Linked DNA regions of Homo sapiens: region 2 is linked to region 1. The links are contacts of gene promoters, found by promoter capture Hi-C in blood cells and fetal thymus (Javierre and others, 2016). All regions are on one chromosome and are shown on one strand. Each heading gives the region's core, a stretch centred on a gene start or on the middle of the fragment in contact. The rest is flanking DNA. Distances are from core to core; before and after follow the strand shown. Region 1 holds the start of DPY19L4 (dpy-19 like 4). Region 2 has its middle 13 kb from the start of LINC01298.

What was found. Contacts are between HindIII fragments. The CHiCAGO score rates a contact against its expected background, and 5 or more counts as called.
Region 2: a contact is called between a fragment that was not itself captured here and the fragment with the promoter of DPY19L4 in region 1, in 1 of 17 cell types (monocytes). The highest score is 6.7, in monocytes.

The regions. Positions count from the first base shown.
Region 1 is chr8:94,718,543-94,721,270 of GRCh38, forward strand. DPY19L4 (dpy-19 like 4) reads left to right here and starts at 1,358. Exons shown (of 19, transcript NM_181787.3): 1 at 1,358-1,472. The coding sequence starts at 1,457. RefSeq lists an enhancer at 451-1,405 and a silencer at 1,166-1,485. The HindIII fragment of the contact is 11,065 bases long and covers 804-2,728 here.
Region 2 is chr8:95,228,253-95,230,952 of GRCh38, forward strand. No RefSeq gene overlaps it. Among named protein-coding and RNA genes, the nearest start is that of LINC01298, 13 kb to the left of the region's middle. RefSeq lists enhancers at 291-430, 551-670. The HindIII fragment of the contact is 3,646 bases long and covers 1-2,700 here.

The DNA of each region.
Region 1 (2,728 bases), core at 108-2,607:
GAGGTCAGGATTTCAAGACCAGCCTGGGCAACATGGTGAAACCACACCCCTCCACTTCTCTACTAAAAGTACAAAAAATTATCCGGGCGTGGTGGTGGGCACCTGTAAACCCAGCACTTCGGGGGGCCAAGGTGGGCGGATCACTTGAGGCCAGGAGTTGGAGACTAGCCTGGCCAACCAACATGGTGAAATCCCATCTCTACTAAAAATATGAAAATTAAGTGGTGGCTTGCGCCTGTAGTCCCAGCTACTGGGAAGGCCGAGGCACGAAAATCGCTTTAACCTGGGAGGCGGAGGTTGCAGTGAACCTAGATCGAGTCATTGCATTCCAGCCTGGGCGACAGAGCGAGACTCTGTCTCAAAAAAAAAAAAAAAAAGTTCCTGGAACCGTTTCTGCACATCACTGAAAAATGATAGCCTCTCCCCAAATATCCTAACTTAAAGGTGCTATTAGGAGAATCTTGCTGCCTGCTAATAATGGGGTGTCCATAATTACCCCATGACTTCAGTGAATTCTCGTGCCTGTTTCTCCCGATCTAAAATGGGTATATTTCATTTACTAAATTTACTTCTGAGTACTGTTGGGGAAAAGATCCCGGTGTTTGTTGAAGAATGCTAGATATAATGAAAGTTAAACACAGTTTAACAAATTAAAATTATTCCCTATTGCTCTGTAATATCTAATTGCACACTGCTCTACCCCAGACCATTGTATTATCTCCCCGCCCCCCCCCCCAGAATATCATGAAATGCAACATATTTGCTAAACCAGTTTTGGTGATTTAAAACAAGTTCCAAGCACAAGCTTCTTTCTTGTAATGGTCAAGTGGCCTACGAAACCAAAGCGCCAACTGAGAACGTTTTGCTGCTGCACTCTGAAATCCCAGCGAGAACGCAGGCAGCGATGGCAGTTCTGGAGCACCGGGTTCCACTTCTGCCTCTGACCGGCTTTGTGACTTCCACCACATTAGATCTGAGTTTCCTCCATGTAAAATGGGGCGGGAATGGAGGCTGGACCTGGGAGGTGTCGCTGATGATCGTCTCTGACTCGCTAAGTCGCGGAGTCACAAAAGTGGCGGAAAGCATGCCCTCACTTTTTGGGAAGAGTAGGACGAGGGGCGGGGCTGCAGCGAGACCCACCAGTCTCGCTTTCCAGGGCAGGCGGCGGCCAGGAGCTACAGCTGTGGGCTGCACTCCCGGCGTGGAGTCTCCTTCCTGCCCGCGCAGGCCCCGGCGCCCCAGCGAAACGCTCCGGCCGCTCCCCTCTCCCAACACTCTGGTTCCCGGGCCGCCTGCGGGGACGCGGTTGGCGGCGACACCGGAGGGGGGTGGGTCAGGAAGTGGGGGCGCGGCGGCCAGGAGCGGGCCCCCGGAGGCCGAGGGGTTCGGCGACGCGGAGGGAGGGAGAGTCTGGGCCGCGCGGGAGCCGCAGGGCGCCCTAGCCTTCGCAGAAACGATGGCGGAGGAAGAAGGTGATTGCCGCGGGGTCCAGCGCGCCAACGGCTGCCAGTGGTCTCGGGAAGGAGGGGCGGGGGCGCTGGAGGTCTGGGTTGGAGCTGCTGGTGGCCGCGGTCGCGGTGGCGGCCGCGCGGGCAGGGCGGGAAGGAGCGCGGCGCCCAGGAGAGGACTGCGGAGAAATTCAGGAGAGCGGAGCAAATGGCCCGAAGTTTTGTCGGCCGAATTGGGAAGCAAAGGTGGAGCTGAAAGTTGGGAATCCGTAGCAAGAGAGAAAGCTGTGCCGGGAGTGGTTGGGAAAGAGGGAGGGTCCTGATCAGATTCTTGGTGAAGTGGGAGGCGCAGTTTGGTTTCGAAGATCAGGTTTAGGTACTCAGTGCATATTTGGAATGCGATTTTTAAAGGGCTGTGGATATTGACAAACCCAGAGGCACAGGGGGCGAGGGAACATTCACCACGGGGATAAAGAGGCAGGGATTTGGGATAAACGTGGCAAGATTAATTGGGAATGGGCGAACACGCAGAAACTGAAGAAAGCCAAGTTCACTTAGGTTCAGGGGAAAATGGTAAAGAGCAGAGCCATCTAATTATTATAGTTTTGGGAGATGATGAGGCCAGGAGGCCTTTGAGGGTCAAAGTGGGTGAGCTGGAGAAAGGTTTCCATGCCGCCTTCAGGATCAATGCTAAGATAAGTAATTCATTCAGCAGTATTTTATTTATAGAAAATGATAAGTATGAGACAAAAATGGGAAGTTAGATGAAACTTATCGGTTAGTGATAAACAATACAAGGAATACTCATGGCATAGTAACTTCATGATAACCCCTACTAGTTTCAGGAAGTGAGAAGCAATTAGATTTTTGCATTCTGGTGGAAAACACAACTTTTTACCTTATGAGTGGAGCTGTGGATGTGATAGTAAATCGATCTAATTTAGACTCAAGCCCCCCTGCCTTTTTTTTTTTTGAAACGGAGTTTCGTTCTTGTTGCCCAGTCTAGAGTGCAAAGGCGCGATCTCGGTTCACCGCAACCTCCGCTTCCTGGATTCAAGCGATTCTCCTGCCTCAGCCTCCCTAGTAGCTGGGATTACAGGCATGCGCCATCACGCCCGGTTAATGTTATATTTTGAGTAGAGACGGGGTTTCTCCATGTTGGTCAGGCTGGTCTTGAACTTCTGACCTCAGGTGATCCGCCCACCTCGGCCTCCCAGAGTGCTGGGATTACAGGCGTGAGCCACGGGTCCAGCCGACTCAAGCCTTTCTGAATCAAGAGT
Region 2 (2,700 bases), core at 12-2,511, 510 kb after region 1:
CTTGGGAGGCTGAGGCAGGAGAATTACCTGAACCCTGGAGGCAGAGGTTGCAGTAAGCCAAGATTGCACCACTGCACTCCAGCCTGGGCGGCAGAGCGAGACCCCATCTCAAAAAATGAAACAAGACAAAAAAAACCACATATGTAAACTGGGCAGCTTAAAAATAAGTCAGAAAGAGATCAGAAACCATAGAGAGGAAGTGGGAGAAAGTTCTGCCCAGAATCTAAGGTGAGGTACTAGGTAGTAAATGTAATTCTGAGCCTCTCGTCTTGCTTTTTTCACCTTCTTATATATGTGACTCTGCTGGAGTTGCATTTCTCATGGATCCTTCCAAATAAGTCAAGAAAAATTTCCCCAGGAGTCCCAAGTTTGAGTCTGGATCAGCATTTGGCAGATTTCTGAGCCTAGAGACAGAGCACAGGCTTCTCTGGCCCGTGATCTCTGCCCTGTGAAAGCCCTTGCCCTGATCTCAGCTCCCATGATGGGCATCCAGTGGCAAGGGGGCCTCTGTGAGTACATTGAGATGAGCCAGGAGGCCTGATGCTGTGCCTGAGACCGAGTCCTAAGAACAGGCCCACAGCTGATGTCCACACCTGGCCCACGTCCCCTGGCCAGCCTTCTTCCACCTGCTCTGTTAAGAAGAAACATGCACCCTGTGGCTAGAGTCCAGCTCCCCTCAGCCCTCTTTCTTCCCGAGGATGTCCTTAGTAATTGTGGCTTTAGTGATGAGCAACACTAGGAGGCCTTGGGGCGTGGGGCCTGCAGAGCAGGGAGAAGATAAGGCAGGGAGATAGGAGGCTGGAGTGTGGGCAGGGCATTGATGGCCATGCTGAGAACCTGGAACTTCGTTCATATTTTAAGCAGAGACGCAGAGACACGGCCTGGTCAGATTTGATCTTCACTTGGCTTCCAGCTACGGTGCCTGAAGACAGGCCTGAACACGCAGCCCACAGGGGAACCCGTTATGTGTGGAGCTCGGCAGTGGAACCTGGCTGGGGTTAAAGGTGGTGGGGATGAAAGGCGCAGGGCATCCAGGCTTCCCACCTCGCCTGTGTCACTTCCTCTGCTCTCTATTACTCCATCACTCCCCATTCCCTGCTCTCCGAGCTCCAGTCACAGTGAAGCTCTAAGTTCCTTGGAAGGACTCTGTTTCCTCCTGCCTCTGGGCCTTCCCATGACAGCTGGAGTCACCTTGTCCAAGAATAAACCAACAACCTTCACTTGGTGATGCCCGCTCCTTCCTCAGGGAAAACTCCCAATGCCTCATCCCAGGTCAGGCCTCCCAGGGCACCTTGCAGTTCCCCTTCTGAAACATTCACTTCACTTGTAATTACATGGGTGCGGGGGACAGCACCTATTTTTGTGGCCTGGCAGCCTCTCTCTTTATTTGGTGTGTGGCTATAGTACCCTGGTTTTATTTTGAGGTACCACACCTCCTCCACTGTCAACCTGTGTGCGTTGGGTAAAGTTGACCCGACTCCTAGGAGCCAAGAGTGGGCCATGTGACCAAGGCTAGACCAATCAGGAGAATCCATGCCCCTTGGCTTCAGTGATTGGTTCAGAAATAGGCAGGTGATCTAAATAAGCCAATCAGGGCTAAGGACACTTGGTCCCTGAATTTTGGTTTGAATTCTTGAGATCCTGACTTACTTCCATGGTCTACAGTGGTGATGTGAGGCTGAAGCTGCCTGGGCCACCATGAGTAGCCTGAGAATTGAACCAGCCCAGAGGGTGCACAGCCAGATGGCTCCTAGTGACATCATTTAAGCTCTAAATCAAGCTGTCCCTAAAGTCAAATCTATCCTTGTACATTTCAGCTACAGGAGTCAATCAATTCTCTTTTTAAATATAGACCTGCCTGAGTTGGATCTGGTGAGTCACAACTGAACAGTCTCCTCGACCTATGTTGTCTTCCTTCTGCCATGAGCACAGGGGCTGTATTTGTGTCTCCAGGACCTGGCTCAATGCCTGGTGCCTAGGAGTATTCAACAAAGGAATGAATAATAAAGAGAGGGGTCTCAGGACTTCTCCAACACCACCCCTTCACCCTTTCATACCTGGAAATGAGATGCAGATTGTGGTTCTCTCTGGGTGATGACATTGTTACAAAGTCCTGTTGGAACCAATTTTCTTCAGAGCAAGGAACTCCAACTACAAGAAAGTAGCCACTTATACGGTGTGACAAAAGGGGCCCTGGGAAAGACTTGTTGCTCAATAAAATTTACAAAGTGCCTGAAGTTCTATTGTTAGCAAGATTCCTTTGGCTTATGGTTCTGAGAACACTTAAGAATTCTCTGTAAATATGTCTGTATTTGGTTATATGAGTATAAAGAAACACTGAAACGATACACAAGAAACTAATAAAAGACAGTTACTGAGAGTTGGGATGGGAATTGCCCCGATGCAATGAGGCAGGCACAGGAATGGGAATTTTTATAGTGTTTGAATTTTGAGCCATATGCATGTATTGGCTTTTCAAAAATTAAATTAATAAAAGAACATCCTTGAGAGTACAGAACCACTAGAAGCCATTAGCAGCTCTTCCCAGCTGTGGGGGAGGACATTTATTTACTGGTTTGTTTTTCAGCTGGGGTACCTGGTTTCAGTGGGGAGGCCCTGATAGACTGGACAGGAGTGGTTTGTCTTGGTTGAGGAAAAAGGAGGTGAAAGAGGGATGCAGAAGCCAGGGGACCATCTGGA